Linked DNA regions of Homo sapiens: region 1 is linked to region 2. Evidence: promoter capture Hi-C in 16 types of primary human blood cells and fetal thymus (Javierre and others, 2016). All regions are on one chromosome and are shown on one strand. Each heading gives the region's core, a stretch centred on a gene start or on the middle of the fragment in contact. The rest is flanking DNA. Distances are from core to core; before and after follow the strand shown.

The links. Contacts are between HindIII fragments. The CHiCAGO score rates a contact against its expected background, and 5 or more counts as called.
Region 1: a fragment that was not itself captured here is called in contact with the fragment with the promoter of DHX15 in region 2 in 2 of 17 cell types (erythroblasts and total B cells); the score reaches 7.5 in erythroblasts.

What each region holds. Positions count from the first base shown.
Region 1 is chr4:25,145,596-25,151,809 of GRCh38, forward strand. All of the region lies in intron 6 of SEPSECS (Sep (O-phosphoserine) tRNA:Sec (selenocysteine) tRNA synthase), which reads right to left. Among named protein-coding and RNA genes, the nearest start is that of SEPSECS, 12 kb to the right of the region's middle. The HindIII fragment of the contact is 2,158 bases long and covers 1,559-3,716 here.
Region 2 is chr4:24,582,555-24,589,131 of GRCh38, forward strand. It overlaps DHX15 (DEAH-box helicase 15), which reads right to left and starts at 2,000. Exons shown (of 14, transcript NM_001358.3): 1 at 1,769-2,000. The coding sequence starts at 1,839. It overlaps LOC124900682 (a long non-coding RNA gene), which reads right to left. Exons shown (of 2, transcript XR_007058078.1): 2 at 6,033-6,577. RefSeq lists silencers at 1,259-1,308, 1,509-1,588, 1,599-1,718 and an enhancer at 1,899-2,438. The HindIII fragment of the contact is 7,218 bases long and covers 1-6,577 here.

The DNA of each region.
Region 1 (6,214 bases), core at 1,388-3,887, 560 kb after region 2:
AAATTTGATAAGAAAGAATGGATTCATCCCATGCCTCTCATCTGTGCTCCTTTTTTTGACAACAAATGTCTACAATGGGTCCTATAACTATTAAGTGGTTTTAAACATCCTCTGTGAGTTCGAGGGTGGCCACCATAACCTAATGGACTATAGCCATCCGAGTTGCCAAACAGTTAATTATACATGTGCCTCTCTTTAATGCTTGGACAATCTACTACCTGTATGACCATTTTAAGCACTCAGATAAAAAACAAATGCAAAGTTTTACTTTTAACATCACTTAATGGAAGTTTTATTTGTATACTCTTGGCAATTCTAGAAGCAATGTTTCTACATAACTCATGCTCCCTAATATTATAAACTTAGATTTCATTCCACTGCAAATGAACTTCCAGTGAAAATCTAATATTCCGGTGAAAAATTGAATACTTACCTACTAGAAATGTAAAACTAAGTTCGGTCCTCATCCAACTTTCTGTCTAATGTGCTTCAATTTTCTCCTCTTAAAAATAGAGATACTGTCTAAATTACAACTAACATAGTCTTTTTCTTTATCTGTAGCCACAGATTTTCAATCTGTATTCACAATCTGTATTCCTATTAATATTATAACCATATTTGACCTTCATTTTCACACCTTGCTATCTGAGGGAGAACAGAAGGAGCAGATAGCTGGCCTAATCTCAGAGTCCAGATCCAGGCAACAGGTGGAAGCAGCCGAAGCAGGGAAGAGGAGCAGCTGCTCTGGAGGCCATTATACAACTGTTCAAATCTTAACCTTCCTCTTCCTCTTCTTTCTAATTTCCTAATAAACCATGATCAGAGAAAATCTCACCATATCACAGGAAAATAGAGAGATGCATATAAGACTAACAGAATAAAAAAAACTGGAAAACATGCGAAGTAGCAGCATATAAAGATAAGTGGACAGTCAGAGTTGCCTTTGTATTAACATTTTAGTACTGTCCAAGGCCTCCTGAGAGAAACAGGAACCTAAACTGGAAGCAGAAGTACTAGAGGAATCAATGCACCAGACTTTGCTAGAACCCTTCCATCACTAAAACACAGAAAGCATTTAAAAGGCAGCACATTCTGTGGCAAGAAAACAAACAGGCCAGACCCAATCTCAGAAATGGTACAAGACCCCCTTTTTCAGCTACATCTAAGTCATCAGTATATGCTCTAAAATCCACTCTCAAAATACATCTGAATAAAAGCATTTATTACCACCTTCACAACTACCACCCTGGCCAAAGCCACCAAAAAATCTCATATGGGTTGCTGCAACAGCCTTCCACTCTTGCCTCCCTACAGTCTATTTCCCACATAGCATGTCACTCTTTCCTGCTTGAAATCCTTCCATGGCCAATGATCATACCAAAAACAAAATCCCAAACCCTTAACACACCTCAAAGCTCTACAACCACTGTTCACCTTGTTCATTATGGTTCAGCCATACTGGCCTCCTTGCTATTTCTCACATATTCCAAGCACGCTCCTGCCTCAGAGTCTTGGCTGTTAGCTTCTGACTGGAATCTCTCTCTCTAGAGAGCTGCAAAGCTTCCTCCTGCATCATTCAGAGCTCCACTCACATGTACTTCTTGAAGAGTGCTTCCTAGATCACTCCATCTAATGATATCCATCCTCCCCAAATACCAGAGCATTTATCCAAGACTTGTCATACTCAAGGTTTACTCTCTGCTTTCGCACAAAAAATAGAATGCTCTATGAGGGTTAAAGATTTTGTTGGATTCACTATTGCATCTCCAGTTCCTACCCTGGTGCCTGGTACACAAGCAGGAACCCAGAAAGTATTTGTTGAATGAAGTGACAATTGGGTTTGTGAATAAACAGTAGTAATACCTACTTCTCTCAAATTCTGAACAGGCAAAGTTGCTGCTTCCCACACTTTTGGAACTTTACAATCCATTGTGACTCAAAATAATCAGTCTTATATGCATATTTTTGTGACTCTACTATATCCCTCTCCATTAATCTATCCTAACATCCATAATTCATGAATCTCTTAAATTCGTCATTTTAGTAAATATAAACAGAAATATAGGTTACTCAAAACTAACTTCCCCTGGAGGTGGGGTTATGTGCATACAGAATACTCTATATGCTCAGCCTTAAGTCATTCTGGGGTCTCATCTTAAAAACAAAAAAGTTAAAAACATAATGTTAAAACAATAAAAATAAAAAAAATTTATTTATACTTTTCTTCATTGATTGATTATTGCAATATTATTTTCTCAAGAAAAGACTTACAGTATTAGTATTTTAGTACTTTGTTTTTTAACAGAAAAATGGGACTTTGGAGTCGCACTGAACTAGATGGGCTATTTTGTAGCTACAGGACCTTAGGGAAGTCACTTAATCCCACTTATTTTATTTCCCCATGTGCAGAATGGGAATAAGAAGTACACCTTAAATTGTCAGGATTCAGCTGATAACTTTAAAAGCCTAGTAGAGGGCCAGGCACGGTGGCTCACATCTGTAATCCCAGCACTTTGGGAGGCCAAGGCGGGTGGATCACGAGGTCAGGAGATTGAGACCACCCTGGCTAACACGGTGAAACCCCGTCTCTACTAAAAAATACAAAAAATTAGCCAGGCATGGTGGTGGGCGCCTGTAGTCCCAGCTACTCGGGAGGCTGAGGCAGGAGAATGGCGTGAACCTGGGAGGCGGAGCTTGCAGTGAGCCAAGATCGCGCTACTGCACTCCAGCCTGGGCGACAGAGCGAGACTCCGTCTCAAAAAAAAAAAAAAAAAAAAAAAAGCCTAGTAGGATGCCTGACACATGGAGAGTGTGTAGTAAATGGTATATATTAACAATAAGGACTATTGAGATGAATTAAGGCTAACTTTAATTTTTTAGAATGTCATGAAACAGCAACCTGCACTCAACAAGACTCAAGTATTCATTTGATTTAAATCAATAGTGCCACAACCTCTTTTGGTGAAGGCCAATTTGGGAAAAATAGAATGTTTATATATTTGCTTTTTTTGTTTTAAAGAAATGTCCATTTTAATAAGTTCTAACGTTCAATAGCACAGTACAGTGACTATAGTTAACAACAATGTATTGTATATTTCAAAATACCTAGAAGAGAGTATGTGAAATGTTCCCAACACAAAAAGATATAATAAATGCCACATAATGGATAGCCTAAGTACTCTGACTTAATCATCCCACAATCTGTACATGTATCAAAATATCATTTGCACTCCATAAATATACCCAGATATTAGGTATCAAAGAAATTTTTTAACAAATGTCAACTTTAGAAGGTAATACATTATCTGCAACAATATCTGCATTTAAAAGTTTATTCATCCATCTTATAGTTTTATTTTTTGGTTAAAATTTTAGTAAAACCACCTCCCAAATGCAGAGAGGTAATGACAAAGCAGAGTATTAGGGATGTGCAACTCCAAGAGCACCTTTCTTATTGTATTCTGGAGCTTTTATTTTTTTTTTGGCGGAGTCTCGCTCTGTCACCCAGGCTGAGTGCAGTGGGGCTATCTTGGCTCACTGCAAGCTCCGCCTCCTGGGTTCATGCCATTCTCCTGCCTCAGCCTCCTGAGTAGCTGGGACTACAAGTACACACCACCACACCCAGAGAATTTTTTTTTAAATTTTAGTTTTGTAGAGATGGAGTCTTGCTTTGTTGCCCAGGGAGGTCTCAAACTCCTGGCTTCAAGTGATCCACAAGCTTCAGCCTTCCAAAGTGCTGGAATTACAGAGGGGAGCCACCACACCCAGCCTCTCTTAGTTTTAACCTCTTCAGGTGCACCACCAAATTTTCTAGTATTTAAAAATATGTTGTATCATTAAAATGATCATTATGAAAACTTTATAGCATCTGAAGGGTACAGAAATATAACACTAAAAAAATTAAATGTACACAATGAATATAACTATGTAAAAACAATATGCATATAAAAAGAGAAAAAGTAAATACATAAATTGTTAAGGGTATTTGTTAGGGTAATAGCATTATGAGTGATCTTCTACTCCTTCCTCATTTTCCTAAACTTTTAGTAATACTGATGGTATTTGACTTTTAAAAGGAGAGAAGCTGCTAAAAATTACACAGAAGAAGAGCAAGAGGGAAAGGGAAAGGAGGAATAAAAATCAATCACTGAAATAAAATGTTTTTCAAGATTTCCAGTGTAGAAAATTGTACACCCTTCCTCTATGACCATACAAATTAGATATAACCTAGTCTACAATAAGTGAAGAAGCCTTAAAAAGTTAAGGAATAGCAAAAAGAAATACCAAGGAAATGGTAAACAGTCTTTCTCTAAAGGTTTTAAGAAATCCCAACACACCATGCCTACAACCCACTCCACCTCTGGACTTGCTACATAAATTAATCCATTTCCTTATTGGTTTAAGCCAACTTGAGTTGGGTGCCTGTTACTTGCTGCCAATGACATCCTAACTGATACAAAGTTGAGTAAAGAAGTTAAGCAAATCAGTGATTACTATTTCATATAAACCACATTTATGTAAAAGATGATATTAGTATACTAAAAATAATATAAAAGACAAAAAATGTACTAGATAGTATCTATTGTGCTTCAGAGCATTTACCATATTGGAGCAAGACACAGGTAATCTGTGAATAACTTATGCCCACATAACACAAATCACATGTATGTCAAAACTGTATGTGTATATTAACATCATTATGCACACAAACTATGTAGTCCATACCATACATGCATAAATACAATACTTTATTTATTCACTGACTGTTCAGTAACCAGTTATTAATTGTCCATTACGTACCAGATATTGTCTTAAGTACTGAGGGCACAGCAGTGAACAAAACAAAGTTCTACCCCAACAGAACCTTAATTCTAATCACTGTCAATAACAAACATTATATCAAATGGTGATAAGTGTTCTGGAGAAAAATAGCAAGGAGCCATCAATTTTAAGAAACATCATTATTTTATATGTCACTACGTAAAAAAAAAACACTGCCTATTAACATTGTAAGACACCACTGATTATTAAGACATCAGAATTTCAGATGTCAAAATGTAGAACATAGCATCTTAAAATCAATGAACATGGTAAAAAAGCAAAAAGAAGGATAGAAAATGCTAGCAAGGGCTGGGCGCAGTGGCTCACATCTGCAATCCCAGCACTTTGTGGGGCCGAGGTGGGAGGCTGGCTTGAGCCTAGGAGTTTGAGACCAGTCTGGGCCGCATGACAAAACCCCATTTCTAGAAAAAATACAAAAAGTTGGCTGGGTGTGGTGGCACACACCTGTGGTCCCAGCTACCCGGGAGGCTGAGGTAGGAGGATCACTTGAGCGTGGGAAGTTGAGGCTGCAGTGAACTCCAACCTGGACAACAGAGTGAGACCCTATCTCAAAAAAATAAAAAACTAGAAAACGCTAGCAAGGAAGGGGGAGGTGTTAGATAGGGTTTGACATGTATGTCAAAACTGAGTATGTATATTAACATCATTATGCACACAAACTATATAGCCTGTATCATACATGTATAAATAAACACAATATTTCATTTATTCACTCACTTTGTTCAGTAACCGGTTTATTGATTGTCAATAATAACAATCACTGACAGAGTTTCTGAGGAAGTCTCACTGACCTAAAGAAAGCTACGCAACTCTCTAGAAGAGCAATCCAGCAAGTGGGATGAGCAAGAGCAAAGGCCTGGAAGTGCAGGCACGTGACAAAATGGAAAAAAAGTAAGGCAGCAAGGGTGGTTGGAGCACAGCAGGCAAAAGGAAAGCAGTAGAAAATGAAATCAGCAAATCAGCAAAGGCCTGAATACACAAAGCCTTGTAGGCCATAGTTCTTATTATAAGTCACATGGGAAACAAAGACATATTTTCAAAATTAGAACCTAAAACAAATGACCAGGATCTAGCTGATGCTTAAAAAAAAATACAAAAACCTGCCAATTCCACAGCTATATACTAGCATGTTTATAAATGAAGTCACTTCTAGTCTAAGATAATAAGGTACAATAATTCCTTAAATATAGACTAAATCATATCTTTTTAAATGGTATAATCCAGTATATTAGAAAAATGAAAATCCAGGTAATGAAACAGTCTCAGAAAGTTAAAAGCTAAACTACTAAAGTATTTCTATGTTGATTCTAGCCTACCAAAGCTATCAGTCCAATTATCACCACAGTATCAAAGAATAATGACTTTTATTGAG
Region 2 (6,577 bases), core at 750-3,249:
TTTTGCCTTAGAGAAATCAAGAACTAAGTGTTCCCTACTTTACCAACGCATTATAAATGTCATTAAAATAGGCTGTAATGACTCTTAACTACAGTACTGAACTGTGTGCTGCTGAGTGAAAATGACAAAGGCAGGGTTCCAGATCCTGCTGTAAACTTGCACAAGCCACCTTAACTCTGTTCTCCACTTCTCATTCCTTGATTGGAGCCGCGTATAGTCTTTTTTAAGTTGCTTCCAGCTCTGAGTCTGTGACATACAGCTCAGAGGTATTAACGTTTTGTGGGGCGTAATGGTGGGGGAGGGTGATAGCCTAAAGAGAGTCTGTCTTACAATGTCATTGTCTTTTTTACAATGCCTAATATCGTAAACTAAATAACTCACAAAATTAAAATGTGACATGCTTTTGCTTTCTATTGAATAATTCAACATATGGCAAAGCCTCAAAAAGTACACCCTATCCTGGCTTATACTCTACAATGACACTAAACATATCCCTGGAAATCAATTTCAATGAAGAACTTTAGCTGAAAAATTCAAAACAGCTATACAGGTGACTTGACACAGTGATTCTGTATCACAAGTACACAATAAAATGATACAATTATGCAAAGTATTTGGCTACTCGGGCTTTTGTGGGTTTTGCCTGAATTATCCAAACAGGTCTTTGTACTTCATCAATGAAAACACACAAGGGACAAGAAATGATTTTCACGAAATTGCTTAAATTAACTGCTAAATTCCTCTGTACCTTTAAGGAAAGGAATCTGGAACACCAAGAGTTTGTGTAAGTATTTCAACTCTCAACCTCCACATGGGCGGTGTTTCGCCATAAATACTAAAAACACGTTTTGAACATGATCCCTGTATTTCAAAAGCTACTTATGAAGAAAAGTGGGACATGCATAGAAAATAAATGATGAAAAAAAAAAACAATGCCTTCTAATCCCTCCCCATGGGACGATGTTCAGTAACCAGTTTTAACCAAAGCAGGAAATACAGGAGATGGCGGGAGCGTAGGCAGAGAGCGGAAGTTTGCTAGTATCTACTTTGAAGTGTTTGAATGGACCAAGGCACGCTCTCTCCCGCCAAACTATAAACTCAGTCGCCCCAAAACACCAGCCTTCCAGCCCATCAGGTATATTACTCCACGTTTTCCTTTCTCCCGGCAGGTCCTCTACTCCCACCTCCCCCGAGAACTCCCTATTTGCTGGCTTCTCTCAACTCCCGCCACCCCCATCCCAGCCTACATTATGATCCACGCGCTGCTCTCACTTTCCGCCCTCCGCCTTTCCCGTCTGGAGTGCCTGGCCGCGCCCCCACCCAGGCCCTCCCCACGGCCCCTCTGGCTGGGAAGTGCCTGCTGCCCTTGGAAGCGAATACTCCCACCGCGCCCTCCCCCACCCTCTCCTCCGGCTCCAGGCCTTCCTCGGGAACCGAGGCCACGAGGTCCGCGGTTCACTCCCGCCCGACGCCCTCGCAAATGACTCCCGCTCGGTTCGGCCTGGGGGAGGAGGCGCCCTCATGGCTACTGCAGGCCTCTCCACCCTCCGGACTGGGCTGGGCAGCGGCCCCGTCGCACGCAACCCCCCGCGCCCTTGCCGGGCCGAACGGGCGCCGCGCTTCTCCTACCCGCCGCTAGTGAACCCAGCCCAGAGAGAAACAAAGGCTCGGGCTCCAGGACCCGCTCGGCCAGGCCAGCCCCGGCCCGCTCCCTGCCAGGACCCCAACAAAGCCCGAGCTGCCGCCTCGCGCCCCCGGCCTGGCTTACCCATCGGTCCCCGCACGCTTCTTGCCAGAGGGGTAATCCTCCCCTAGGTCCAACCGGTGCCGCTTGGACATCCTCGCACTCTTCGAACGGGCAGTTATTAAGGAAGAAAGCTGGCTGCTGTATGGGCACAGTCGAGGACAGCCACTTAACTCTGGAGGACCCCCACCCCTCCCGCTACTACAGCCCACACGGTGCGGCCGGAACCAACAGCTAAAATGGCGGCGGCGACGAGGGCTGGGCCTGCGCGCGCGCGCGCTTCCGCAGCGTGCGTGCGTGCGAGTGTGCGTGTGAGCGAGGTGCGCGCGCACGACGCCCAAAGGCGGGAACTCCTGTCCCGCCCGCTGCCTCATTGGTCCGACCTTTCTTGGGTCTCCTCCCTCTTCCTGTAGCTTTCCCCTCCTCGGAGCGGCTGTTAGGAAGAACCTGAAGGCCTTCACTTTCCATTTCAGGCTATCCTTGCCCCTCTGAGTCAAGAAATTGAGAAAGTCTAGTCCTAGTTAGGAAATCCTATTCATTTCTATTACCCCGGCTTTAAGGGAATCTCAGACCCAGAGAGGTTGAGAAACGAATGAAGATCGTACAGCTAATAAGTGGCAGAGCCGGGATTGGAACCCAGCTATTTAGTAACTCCAGATCTGGAACTTGCGGCCACTGCGCTACCCTCAGTTGCAGTGAGGGGCCGCGCGATGGTTCACGCCTGTAATCCCAACGCTTTGGGAGACCGAGGCGGGTGGATCACGAGGTCAGGAGTTCGAGACCAGCCTGGCCAACACGGTGAAACCCCGTCTCTACTAAAAATACAAAAATTAGCTGGGCGTGGTGGCGTACGCCTGTAATCCCAGCTACTCGGTAGGCTGAGGCAGGAGAATCGCTTGAACCTGGGAGGCGGAGGTTGCGGTGAGACGAGATCACACCAGTGCACTCCAGCCTGGACGACAGAACAAGACTCCGACTTGAAAGAAAAAAAAAAATCAATTGCAGTGAGGAAACTGAAGTGAGAAAATGTTAAGGCTTGTCATGATCTATTTTGCCCTTTTCTTGCCCAGCACGGACACCATGCACCCAAGCTATAGATGTTTTTAACTAGAATACAGAGAATTCGCAGTGAGGGCACAATTTGCTTTTTTGTTTTTTGTTTTTCTGTGCCTATTAATGCACTTTCGCAGTGTTAAATAACACCCTGCAAGGTAGTTGTTATTTTGTAGACGTAGACGCAAAGGCTGAGGAAGGTTACATCTCCTAGCCATAAGGGCTGTACCTAAAGCCATAACAAGGAGGTGGGGCAAGATGACTCTAAGGATTTTTGTGGATCTCTCCCCCTAGAATATGTCTGCTTCCTCAGTTGCATTTGTTCCCAGAAGAAATGCACAAGAAAAGATCTGTGGACCATCTGCAGCAGGGTGATCTCTGTTGTTCATGGAATGGCTTGGTTTGGCTGCCCTGGAAGACCATACTCTGGTTCTTATCCAAATCTCAGGACTGCAATTGCTAGGATTAAATGCAACTTAAATATTGCAACTGATGAGGGGTTTGTGTGTTTGTTTTGAGACAGTCTTGCTCTGTCGCCCAGGCTGGAGGACAGTGGTGCAATCTCAGCTCACTGCAACCTCCGCCTCCCGGGTTTAAGCCATTCTCCTGCCTCAGCCTCCCTCCTAGCTGGGATTATAAGCGCCCGCCACCACGCCCGGCTACGCGCCCGGCTAATTTTGGTATTTTTAGTAGAGACGTAGAGACGAGGTGTCGCCATGCTGGCCAGGCTGGTCTTGAACTCCGGACCTCAAGTGATCTGCCCACCTCGGCCTCCCAAAGTGCTGGGATTACAGGCGTGAGCCACTGCACCCAGCCAGCAATTGGTAAGGAGGGTTTTTATTTTTTTGTACCAAATCCACATTGGAAAGTCAACACAAAGAAAAATGAGTATATTTTTCACTTGTGAAATATTCAGTACAACTTTCTATCCTAAATGTACCATAGTCCCTACTTTGTCCCTGGTTTTGCTTTCACAGTACAGTAAGATATTCTGAGAGAAAGACCACATTCACATAGCTTCTATTACAGTATAGATTCTCCTTGACTTATGATGGGGTGATGGCCATCGCAAAGCCATCGTAAACTGAAAATGTTGTAAGTTGAACATGCAGTTAATATACCGATAAACCCATCGTGAAGTCAAAAAATCTGGTCAAACAATTGTAAGTCAAGACTGTCTGTATGTTGTTATAAATGTTTTATTATTAGTTGTTAATATCTTACTGTGCCTAATTTATAAGTTACACTTTATCATAATTACATATGTATAGGAAAAAACTGAAATTAAAATGATGAGTTGGCCTTCTATTATCTGTGGGTTCCTTATCCCTGGATTCAATCAACTGCAAATCAAAAATATATTTTTCTTTAAAAATGGATGGTTGCATCTGTATTGAACATGTACAGACTTTTTCTTGCTCTTATTTCTTAAACAATACAGTATAACAGCTATTTCCATAGCAATTACATTGTATTAGGTATTATAAGTGATCTAGTGATGATTAAGTATACAGAAGAATGTGCATAGGTTATATGCAAATACTGTACTATTTTATATCAGACACTTGAACCTCCACGGACTTTAGTGTCGGCAGTTTCTCCTGGAACCAATCCCTAGTGGATACTGAGGGACAATTGTGTTGACTTTTTTCAGATCATGATGTATAATCACTGGATTCCATCTGATTTTTCTCTTTTTGCTTAATTTTACAAATGAGGGAAACTGAACCCCTAGGTCTTATTGAAGTTCACACAATCAGTTGGTATCAAAGTCAGAATAAAATACAGATTTCACTTGAAGTATTAAAATCTCAGTCTTCAGGTTTCCAGTTTGATGACTGCTATAAAGTGCTCTAAAATTTTGGAGAAATAATCAGGGAAAAAAGTTAGAATTCTACCTGCAGAAGTGCTCCACTCAGATGTCAGCCTCTCATAAATGATGAAAGAGGAACTGAAATCAAGGTGATGAGACTTTTCCCTTGGGCCTAGGTTACAGCTAAAGAAAACCATAACCTCATCAGTTGTGTTGTGACCTGAACAATTAAAGAAAGGCCCTGGGCAGGCGTGGTGGTTCACACCTGTAATTCCAGCACTTTGGGAGGCCGAGGCAGGTGGATCATGAGGTCAGGAGTTCGAGACCAGGCTGACCAACATGGTGAAACCCCGTCTCTACTAAAAATACAAAAATGAGCCAGGCATAGTGGCACATGCCTGTAATCCCAGCTACTCAGGAGGCTGAGGCAGGAGAATCACTTGAACCCGGGAGGTTGAGGTCGCAGTGAGCCAAGATTGTGCCACTGCACTCCAGCCTGGGCAACAGAGCAAGACGCCATCAGAAAGAAAGAAAGAGAGAAAGACAGAAAGGAAGGAAAGAAGGAAAGAAAGAAAGGAAGAAAGGAAGGAAAGAAGAAAGGAAGAAAAGAAGGAAAGGAGGAAAGAGAAAGGCCCTACTTATTGAAGGATAGTGACCTCTCTGGAATCTAGAATAAGGGGAACAAGTGGCCAGAGGCTGCCAGGATGTGCACACTCCTTGGGAAGAAGGGTAGAATTCTAGGTCTAAATGATCCACCCTGGATTTTCAGACATCATTATCCCTGGAGTAGAGAAAAGGCACCCACCAGGCCCTCCACAAACTTGGCTGGAAATATTTCCAGATAATATCCTATTTTCCCTTACTGTTACTCTTTCTCTACTAGACAACCCTCTGGCCTATGACATGGACTTTCTCACCTGGAGGAAATGTCTTATGCAGCTAACCAGCTGCAGGGTCTCAAGTCAACCTAAATTAATAAAAAATAATTGCTAATAGCAAACACATACAAAGCACTATGAGCCAGATGCTGTTCCTTACACATTTGAGCCTATTTGAGACTTACAGCAACTTCAAGTTTAGTCCAATGAATTACTCTTATTTACAGCTGAGGAAACTGTTACTCAAAGAGGCAAGTATTTTGGCCAAGATGACAGTTCTGAGATTCAGCCCAGACAGTGTGTGTGCTTAATTGCTATGTTCTGCTGCGGCTGATAAATAGATATTCTCGTTCCACTTTATTCGTCTAAGGTGTGGTTACTGAAGATAAGTTCTCCCAGTCTGACAAGATGAACATGAACTGATAAAACTTCTGCATTGTCCATGTAGAGAACTAGTTTACAGAACTCTCAGTGGACAAGTGGGGATTTGGATTATTTGAACCCAGTCCAACTCTAGAGCCGCACTATTGACCATTGTACAGTATCACTATTACCATTTATTTATTCAATCAACAAATATGTATTAAGCTCCCATGTCAGGCATTAAGTGCTGGGGAAAGAGGAAAGAAGAAAATAGCCATAGTTCTTGCCTTCATAAAACGTGGCAGAGGGAGAGAGACAGGCACTGAACAGCTAAACACATAAATAACTATGTTGTTATCACGATGATAAGTGCTGAAAAGGCCAGCTACAGACGACAGGCATTGTGAGAGCATATAACAAGTGGCCTTGATCTACATTGAGGGTTAGGGAATGCCTCTCTGAGAAAGAAACATTTAGACAAAAACCTTAAAAATAAATGCAATCCCAGCACTTTGGGAGGCCAAGGCAGGCAGATCACCTGAGGTCAGGAGTTCAAGACCAGCCTGACCAACATGGAGAAACCCCATCTCTACTAAAAATACAAAATTAGCCGGGCATAGTGGTGCATACCTGTAATCCCAGCTACTCGGGAGGCTAAGGTGGGAGAATTGCTTGAACCCAGGAGGCGGAGGTTGCGGTGAGCCAAGGTCACATCATTGCCCTCCA